2 separate regions of the Homo sapiens genome follow, and region 1 is linked to region 2. The links are contacts of gene promoters, found by promoter capture Hi-C in blood cells and fetal thymus (Javierre and others, 2016). All regions are on one chromosome and are shown on one strand. Each heading gives the region's core, a stretch centred on a gene start or on the middle of the fragment in contact. The rest is flanking DNA. Distances are from core to core; before and after follow the strand shown.

Region 1 (4,822 bases), core at 410-2,909, 480 kb after region 2:
CCTCGGCCTCCCAAAGTGCTGGGATTACAGGCGTGAGCCACCACACCTGGCCACACCTGGCTAATTTTTAAAAATCTTTAGTTGAGATGGGTTTTCACCATGTTGGCCAGGCTGGTCTCGAACTCCTGACCTCAAGTGATCCACCCACCTCAGCCTCCCAAAGTGCTGGGATTACAGGTGTGAACCACTGTGCTTGGCCTACTCTTTTATTTTATTTATTTATTATTATTAGAGACAAGGTCATATTATGTGGCCCAGGGTGGTCTTGAACTCCTGAGCTCAAGCAATCCACCCTCCTCAGCCTCCCAAAGTGTCAGGATTACAGATGTGAGGCATTGTGCCCAACCAGATGTTACTCTTCTCCCCTCTGACAGGTGAAAAGGCCTGTGGAGTAGAAGGGAGGGGCAGGTTTGCCCAGGGTCTCACAGTAAGAGACAAGCACCATACCAGGTACTGCCTGATCCCAAACCCACAGCGAGGGGAACCCGCGATGCTCGATCACCATGGCGGCACAGCAGTGAGCTTGGACCCTGGGGCTCAGACCGCACCCCCACATGCAGTTTTTTGTGACGCCAATAACACCATCATCACTCTGACCCCACAAACACAGCACAACCCAACAGAAGCTGGTTAGCAAGACTGTTCTCAGCAAGCCACTCCCAGCAGGGACACAGCCGCAGCTGGCTACTTTTCTCCCCAAAGGCCCTGTTCTGGGACATTGACTCATTGACTTTGCAAACTGCCAAGGAGGAAGGCAGCCAGCCAGCATCCTTGTCTTTATTTTCCCTGACACCTGGGCCTCTGAATCCCACACATTAACCAACATCTCTGAGGGTGTCTGGGCCAGGCCTTTGCAGCTGCCAGCAGATTTCCACGGGCATTTGGAAGGACTGGGAGGGTCTACCCCTACCACTCCCTGCCCATGAGATATCCCGGGCACCTTCTCAGCAAAGCTCAGCCTCACGGGTGTCCTTTCTGGGGACATGGCAGCGTGGGGAGAACTAACAGCAAGTGTGCAGCCACCGGCAGGTCTCGGCCCCATTGGGTTGGAACTAGCTCAAGGACCTTAGACAAGGCACTTCTTTTTCTAAGCTTAAGTTTTTAAAATTGGCCTGTTATTAAGAACTGAGTCACCAAATAAAAGTGATGATTTGCTGTGATTTTCTTTTTATTCGTTCACTCACTCATTCAGTATTTACTGCGTACCTTTGCTAGGCTTCACACTCAGTTTGTTACCAATAGGGATTTTTTTTTGTTGTTTGTTTGTTTGTTTTGAGATGGAGTCTTGATCTGTCGCCCAGGCTGGAGTGCAATGGCGCGATCTCAGCTCACAGCAACCTCTGCCTCTGGGTCCAAGCAATTCTTCTACCTCAGCCTCCCGAGTAGCTGGGATTATAGGCATCCACTATCTGGTTAATTTTTGTATTTTTAGTAGAGACGAGGTTTCACCATGTTGGCCAGGGTGGTCTTGAACTCCTGACCTCAGGTGATCCGCCCGCCTCGGCTTCCTAAAGTGCTGGGATTACGGGCGTGAGCCACCGTGCCCGGCCCAGTAAAGGATATTGACTGCAAGTTGTCCAGGTTCTTGGCATTTTGAGCAAAGAATTGGACAAAATGCACAGCAAAGCAGGGAAAGAATGAAGACATGAAAGCAGAGATTTATTGAAAGTGAAAGTACACTCCACAGGGTGGGAGTGACCAGAGCAGCGGCTCAAGGGCCCTGTTACAGAATCTTCTGAGGTCCAAGTACCCACCCACTGGAGGTTTCCCATTGGCCACTTGGTGTTCACCCCATGCAAATGAAGTGGCAGCCCGTGATCAGTCTGATTGTTGCAGAAAGTGCCCACAGGGCTGGGCTTGATGTGTTACGTCCTTGGTCCTCACAACAGGTATTGTGAGTGCGTCTGTACCATGACAAAGCCTGGGGCTCTGAGGCCATGTGTACTTTGCCTATGATCACTCAGCTAATAGGAGGGGTGCAGGACTCGAACCCAGGCTCGCTGCTCCTAAGCCATTCTCCTAACCATTGTGCAATGGTGCTTTCCTAGAGCTCTTACAATCCAGTAGTGTTCACAACACTCATACAGCTAAGCCTGATGTCGGGCTGGTCATACAGAGCGAGTAGGATTTCAGAGGAGAGAGGCAGCAGGTTTTATCTAGATGGACCAGGCAAGACTTGGAGGAAGACGCCACATTGAGCCTGATTTTACAGCAAAGCAAAGCTTCCACCTTCCCCCTCCACTCCTACTGCTTTGGCTATGCCAGGTCCCTCTGGGAATTTTCATTCTAGTGGAGGCGACAAGTGACCTCCCAAGGGCTGAGATAGTGAAGGGATGGGGACCCAGGAGACACACGTCAGGATAGGGAGATGTGACCTATGCTAGGGGGTCAGGCAGGCCTCCCCGGAGACAGGTGTTTTCAGCTGAGCCCCATGGGATGAGTACTTTTATCTGGATGAGAGAAGGTTCAAAGAGAGGGAATGAGCTCCCAAAGAGGACAGCATTTTTTAGACCCAAGGGATGAGAGAGCCTGGAGCCTGCAGGAGAATGAAAGCAGCTGAATGTGAGGGAGCACAGACAGCCAAAGAAGACATCACCAGAGTGGGCCCAGAGCCACAGGGCCTCAGCAGCTACTGCCGGGGTCGTCCTGAGCTTTCTGGCACAAAGGGAACCACTGCATAGTTGAATCCAGGATGAGTTACAGGTGTGTGGTTTCTTAAGCACGGGTAATGGACAGGTGGGGCTAGTTAGGAAATACGGGGTATGGTAAGGGGTTGGTGTGGAGAGAAGAAATGCAATTCAAGAGATATTTGGGGGCAGATACCAACAGGACTTGTTTGGATTGGAAGAAGGAGGCAAATGGGGTTTCCAGGTGTCTGGCTGTGGCAACCAATTTGGCAGCAGCTTTCGACAATGAACTACTTGGAAATTGCAATTTGTGTGCGGCGTGTCACATTTTCCAGCACAATATCATGTGTATTCTTAGAGTCTTCAGTCAGGTGGGAAATGAAGGTGCTATCAAAGGACCCTGACAGACAGCGCAGGGATAGCCTGTCTTGAATATGGCAGAGTCAAACCCACAAGCTCTTGGGGAGTCCTTAAACAATTGAGATTACCTTCTTTGATGACCACCCGCAGCCCAAGGGGAGGATACTTTGAATACCACCTACTCCACATCCCAACTAAGGAAAGGAAAACAAAGTTGGCTACCCCCAACTGTCTGGGATTTTTCAATTTTTGCCTTTTTCCCTCTCTCTTGTGTCTCCTATATAAATCCTACCCATGTAGAAGTCAATCTATCATTTGTTTCCCTCATAGATAAGCAAATTAATTGGCTTATTATATTACCTATGTCTTTTATTTATTCTTTGATAGGAGGCACTATTATTTTCTCCTTTTTACCGATGAGGAAACTGAGGCTCCGAGAGCTTGAGTGGTTTGTCCAAGGTAAATGGGAGCCAGGTTCTGATTCTGGTCTTCAGTGCCCAAATTCCTGCCCCTCTCTCTAGGACAGCTCGAAGCCCTATTCTGGCCTATTAAAGGGAGCATTTCCAGAGAGAAAAAAAAATGGATGTGGACACATTCGACGTTTCTGATATGATTGTGTTGTCTGGAGCCCAAACGCTCTCCCTCGGGCCCTTGAAATGATGGGAAGGATGCAAGGTCAGAAAAAATGTGGAATGTACGGGACTCGGGCTCTACCTGGGGACATAGAGAAATCTCCCTGATTTGTTTTTCACATAGAGAATTTACTTAGGGAAGGTGGAGAGTGCAGAACGCGGCTCCGCGTGGTGGCGAAGCATAAGAAGTGCACCTGCAGGCAGAAGGGAGCCAGATGGAGGCCACCTGCAATAACGGGGCTCATTCCCGGAGAAGCAGCGCCATCTGCTGGTTTCCCATGATATGACTGTGTCAGACCAGAACAAAAGCATTTAGAACAGGCCATCTCAAAGAAATGCTAGCCTGATATTTTACCTTTTGGAGTAAAATTTCAGACTATGCAAGGATTTGATCCACTTAGCATTGAAAACAAAACCAAAAGCAACCTGCTGTGGTCCGAATGTTTGTGTCTGCCCTAAATTCCTATGTTGAAATCCTAACTAACCCCAAGGGTGATGGTACTAGAAGATGGGGCCTATGGGAGGTGATCAGGTCGTAACGGTGCAATCCTCAGCAGAGGGATTAGTGCCCTTATAAAAGGGACCGCAAAGACACCCTAATCCCTGCTACCATGCAAGGACATAGGAAGAAGCCGCTAGCTATGAGGAAGTGGGTCCTCACTAAACACCAAATCAGCCGGGGCCTTGATCTTGGACTTGCCAGCCTCCTGAACTGTGAGAAATATATATATATATTTGAGACAGAGTCTTGCTCTGTTGCCCAGGCTGGAGTGCAGTGGCACAGTCATGGCCCATTGCAACCTCCACCTCCTGGGCTCAAGCAATCCCTTCACCTCAGCCTTCCAAGAAGCTGGGACTACAGGCATGCACCACCACACCCGGATAATTTTTGTATTTTTTGTAGAAACAGGTTTTCGCCATGTTGTCCAGGCTAGTCTTGAACTCCTGGCTTCAAGCAATCTGCCTGCCTCAACCTCCCAAAGTGTTGGGATTACAAGCATGAGCTACCACACCCGGCCAAAATTTCTGTTGTTTTATAGCCACCCAGCTTACAGTATTTTGTTATGGCATCCTAAACAGTCTAAGGAATGAGCTTTTGTTAATTATTCAATAAATAGTGTTAAGCCCTTAGAAAAATAAGACAGACATAGTTTCTGCCCTTTTGGAAGTTGCATTCTGGCAAAAGGTAAACATGCTGTACCA
Region 2 (4,468 bases), core at 732-3,231:
AATCTCGTTTAGTGTCCTGACCTGTAAAATGGGGCCTCCGTCATGGACTTGTAAGGATTTGCTGTGATAAAATATGCCAAGCACCCAGCGTCTGGCACATAGTAGGTGCTCAACAAACCTTAGCGTCTGTTCTCATATGTGTGGTACTTCATGTTTCTGTTCCTTGCAGCTAGCACAGTACTGCGCATGTAACCAGTGTCAAAAATGTGTCAAGGAGAATACATTGACCGAGTGGAATGTGAATTGTAAACAAAAAAGGAAAAATAGGAACCTGGTCTCTGGGCAGATTCTGCCTGAAGACGTTAAAAAGCCCTGTATTTATTTCGTCAAGTTGCCATGGCAGCAACTGATGCTCCAGCCAGCTCCAGGGTTAGCAGGGATCAGTTTATCTTGTTAACCATGGAAATTCCGGAGGTTCAGTGGGATCCAGAGGGGAAGGCAGACACAGTTCTTCTCCAGTCTAGAAATAAATCCTGGAAAGCCTCCTTAGTTTTCATGTAGCTAAAACCATCATTATCTAAAATGATGTTTACATGACAATTTTTATAAGTATGGATTTAGGCACAGGAGATGTAAAATCAGGCAAAAAAAAAAGGGCCAGCGATACTCAGAAGGGCAATTAGCATCATGGAAAACTTAAGGGGCTGCCGGAGAGCCAGGATCTAGACCCCCAGAACTAACTTGGGGCTTCCGCATCTTTTAAGCCTCCATTTGCAGACTCGCTGTCCACACACAGTCTGGATTTTGCTGTCACTTTTTAAACAGGCTTCCACTACAGGTGAAGCTTGGGGAAAAAGCAAGTGTCCCCTCAAACTTCGTTCCCTGTAAAAGAAAACAGCAGCAGATGGGGTCCCTGCCACACACCCTGGAGACAGAAGGGAGCCTGGGTGGCCTCCCGACCTCTCTGCTCCCACCATAACCAACCAACACAACCAGAGAAGGTGCAAGATGTGGCTTTGGTAGATTGGGACTTACTCTCCCAGGCCAAACGCAGCCCTTCCCTGGAGCCAGCTCTGGGTCTTCTCTAGGGTCACAGACTGATGGAGAAATCCGGGATTTGTCTTTGTTCTGGCTCAAGAGAGTTAAGGCACAGAAATAGAATCATCACCCAAGCTCAGAACTCCAGGGCATTCTGCCGGAGGAAAATTCAAGCTGTGAGAGATTTGTTTTTCCGGCCACTGGGAGCCTGTTTGTGTCGGGGAGGGGGGTGGGGGGGTTCTGGCCGCGCTGGGCACTGGTGGCTCCATCAGACTCTACACAAAGCAAAACAGGACAAACGACCGCGGCGCGTCGACGCTTGGCGGGTCACGGTCACAAAGCGGGTCTCAGAGCCTTCCTCAGGCGGCGGCAAAGGGGGCGCCCGAGGTCACCGGCAAGAGACAGATTACTGGCGCCTCGGGAAAACAGAGTGGGGAAGGGCGAGACTGTGTGCCCATCCACGTTCGCGCGGGTCTGAGCTGGCCCGGCCTTGGAGGGCTCCGGGACCCCAGAAGGGGGACAGCAGTGGGGGATGGGCAGAAGGGGGCGACTCGGGCTGCCCAGGCTCCTCGCAGCCTTCCTGCCAACGAGAGGGGCCCGGGCGGGAACAGCTCGAGCCGCGGGGGTGCGGGGCGCGCAGCCCGCCCCACCCCGGGAGAGCCGCGATCGCCGCCCCCGACGCGTGCACCAAGTGGGGGTGTCCGGCTCGGGACAAAGGACCGGGACGCGGATCGCGGGCGGGCGCCACTGCCCAGCCCCAGCGTGGAGGGCGAGACCGTGGCCCCGAACCTCCCCAAACTTGGCGGCCCGGGGCGCGTGGGGGGGACGCCCCGTTACCTGCGCGGCCATAAAGGAGAGATCCATGGTGTCGCTGCAGCCAGCGCTCGAGTCCTCGCTGCTGCCGCTGCCGCTGCGGGTCAGCCGCCTGCACAGTTGGCGGGGATCGGGCTGAGCAGCGAGCGTCCGGAGACCGCACGGCGCACTCGGCTGTCTCTGGGCTTCTGGCTCCAGATCTCTACTAGGCGGAGGGCCCCGAGCGCGGGGGCGGGCGGGGCGGGGTGGGGCGGGGCTCGGCGGACGGGGCGCCCCTCCACGTGACCACTCCCCGCCCCACCCCCGGGGCGGGGTCCGTCAGAAACCCCAAGCGCTCGCAATCGCCTCCCTTCGTGGGCGGGATGGGGAAACTGAGGCCCGAGGCCGCCCCGCTGGTTGGTGCAAGAACCAGCCTGCAACCCAAGTCCTGAGCTGTTGGCGCCCCGCCCCGTGCAGTTGAACCCAACCCACCCGGGGCTGTGGGCAGCGCTCTCTTGGGGCTGACACGTTATCCCGAGCCTGAGGACCAAGATCGGAGTGACCTGGCTTTCCACGCCAACGCTCCTCCCAGAGTCCGGTGTACTCCCGGCTCGGCATCTGGGCAGAACGAGGTTTAATCCTAGCCCTGCTTTGTTGTGCAGCTTGAGCAAGATAGTGTCTTTGAGCCTAGATTTCCTCATCTGTGAAAAGAGAATACAGAACCGAATAATTAAATGAGATAGGGAATATAGCACGCGGTGTCCTCAATAAATGAGAGCCCTAACATGGCTAATCATCCAATAGAGACGAGGCTGTGAGTGGTGTCTTCGAGGACCGCACGGTGCTCAGGTTGCACAGCGGGTACTCCATGGCTCTCAGCTCAAACCAGTATCGAAAATCATGCAGGTGCCACAGTTCAAGTAAGGGGAACAGAAGAGACGCCCACAGGGGCCCATTGCTCTGTATGTGTGTGTGTGTGTGTGTGTGTGTGTGGTGGACACCACAGACTTGGTGACACGTGGAGGCTTTGCCCTCCGGGGGCTCACTGGGAGGGAACCAGCTGTACTCTAAGGAGTCTCAGTGAGTACGACTGGTCCCTTTGGGTGATGTCTCTTCCAGGTACTTTACACTCATGGTCATCACGAGCCTCTGTGAGGGGCAGCCTGGGACTCCCAGACTTTGTCACAGGCAAGGAAGCTGTGGCACAGGGAGATGGAGGGGTTTGTTCAAGGTCCCCCGGCAGCTGGGGGCCCAGTAGGGACTGTGGCTATGGGAATGGGACCAGAACCTCACTGACCTACAGAAGGCTTTCAGTGTTATCTTTCCTGTAACTTTCCTTTCTTTTCTTTTCCTTCCCTTCCTTTCTCCCTCCTTTTCTTCCTCCTCTTCCTTCTCTCCTTCTCTCCCCTTCCCCCCACTTTTTTCTTTCTTTTCTCTTTTCACTTTTCCTGTCATGCTTGCCTCCTCCCTTCCTCCTCTGGTCTCTAAACCCTCCAGTTCCCTGGCCCTCCCTTCCCTCCCTGTTTTTAGCCAGTACTGCACTCACCACACCCATCATTCCTGCCACCTCCCAGCCTAGTCCACACGGGGCCTGCCCAAACAGTCCATGCCAAGAGCCGCCCACCTCCTCCCACCCTTCCTGTGGCCAATAGCAAAGCAGCCTGCCCAGAACTGCCCAGGGCTCCCCGTCTGCTGTAAGAAATATTATGTACACGGCATACTTCACAATAAAAGGGCGTATAGGTTGTGTGTGTGCAATTTGAAAAATAATATAGCCTTGCATAGGTTAAAAAGTGGAACAATAAAAAACAGTCGTGAAGTCCTACTGTGTATCTCTCCAAAGGCATCTCCTACCTGCCCCCTTTCCAGGGTCACCTCCATCCTATTTAGTATTCACTCTTGTCAATTCTCTTGCTTTTCTTTATAGTTTTACCTTTATAGATTACCTGCTTTAACCCTTTGTAGAAAAATTAAATTGCTCTAAATTTGCTCTTCCATGTCTTCTTTGTTGTTTTCTCAGCATTATTTGTGTAGTTGACGTATATTGTTTTTCAGTGCTACACAATATTCCATTTGTATGTCCTTATCACAGTTTTTATTGATGCACTAGCCCTTTGATGGATACTTTGGTCATCTCCAGGTTTTCTGATAACGCCAAAAAAAAATGCTGCTGTGAATACTCTCGATCTTGTCTTTGGATGCACAGGTGCAAGGGGTCCTCAGGGAATACGCTAGGAATGGAACAGTTGGGTATTGTGGTCAGCTCATCTGTGCTTTTACTAATTGATGCCCATTGCTTTCCAGTTTCTGATTTCCAAGGAGGCTTCATCCATTTTATTATCCTACCTATAGTAGGCATGGGTTTTTATTGCTCCACAATTGACCAACACTTTGTATTGTTAGGATTTTTTTTTAAGTTTTGCAAATATGATATGATGAAGTAGTGTTTCATTTGGATTTGATCCTCATTTCTCTGATTACTAATGACATTAAGCATCTTTTATACATCTATTGATCAGTTTCATTTCCTTTGATGAGAAATGCCTTTCACCAGGTCTTTTGTGCTTGTTTTAAAATTTTGCTTATTTTTTTATTGACTCAGGAAAAGTATATGTTTTAGATATTAATCTTGCTAGTTATAGGTTTTTAAATATCATCTTTCATTTTACATTTCTTGTCACTCTATTATACCTTTTCA

What was found. The method cuts DNA at HindIII sites, captures the fragments that hold promoters and counts their contacts. A CHiCAGO score of 5 or more calls a contact.
Region 1: a fragment that was not itself captured here is called in contact with the fragment with the promoter of C14orf132 in region 2 in 2 of 17 cell types (endothelial precursors and naive B cells); the score reaches 8.3 in endothelial precursors.

Annotation. Positions count from the first base shown.
Region 1 is chr14:95,560,149-95,564,970 of GRCh38, reverse strand. No RefSeq gene overlaps it. Among named protein-coding and RNA genes, the nearest start is that of LINC02318, 11 kb to the left of the region's middle. The HindIII fragment of the contact is 1,130 bases long and covers 1,095-2,224 here.
Region 2 is chr14:96,036,875-96,041,342 of GRCh38, reverse strand. It overlaps C14orf132 (chromosome 14 open reading frame 132), which reads right to left and starts at 1,981. Exons shown (of 2, transcript NM_001252507.3): 1 at 1,816-1,981. The coding sequence starts at 1,842. RefSeq lists silencers at 1,872-1,921, 1,942-2,131. The HindIII fragment of the contact is 11,225 bases long and covers 787-4,468 here.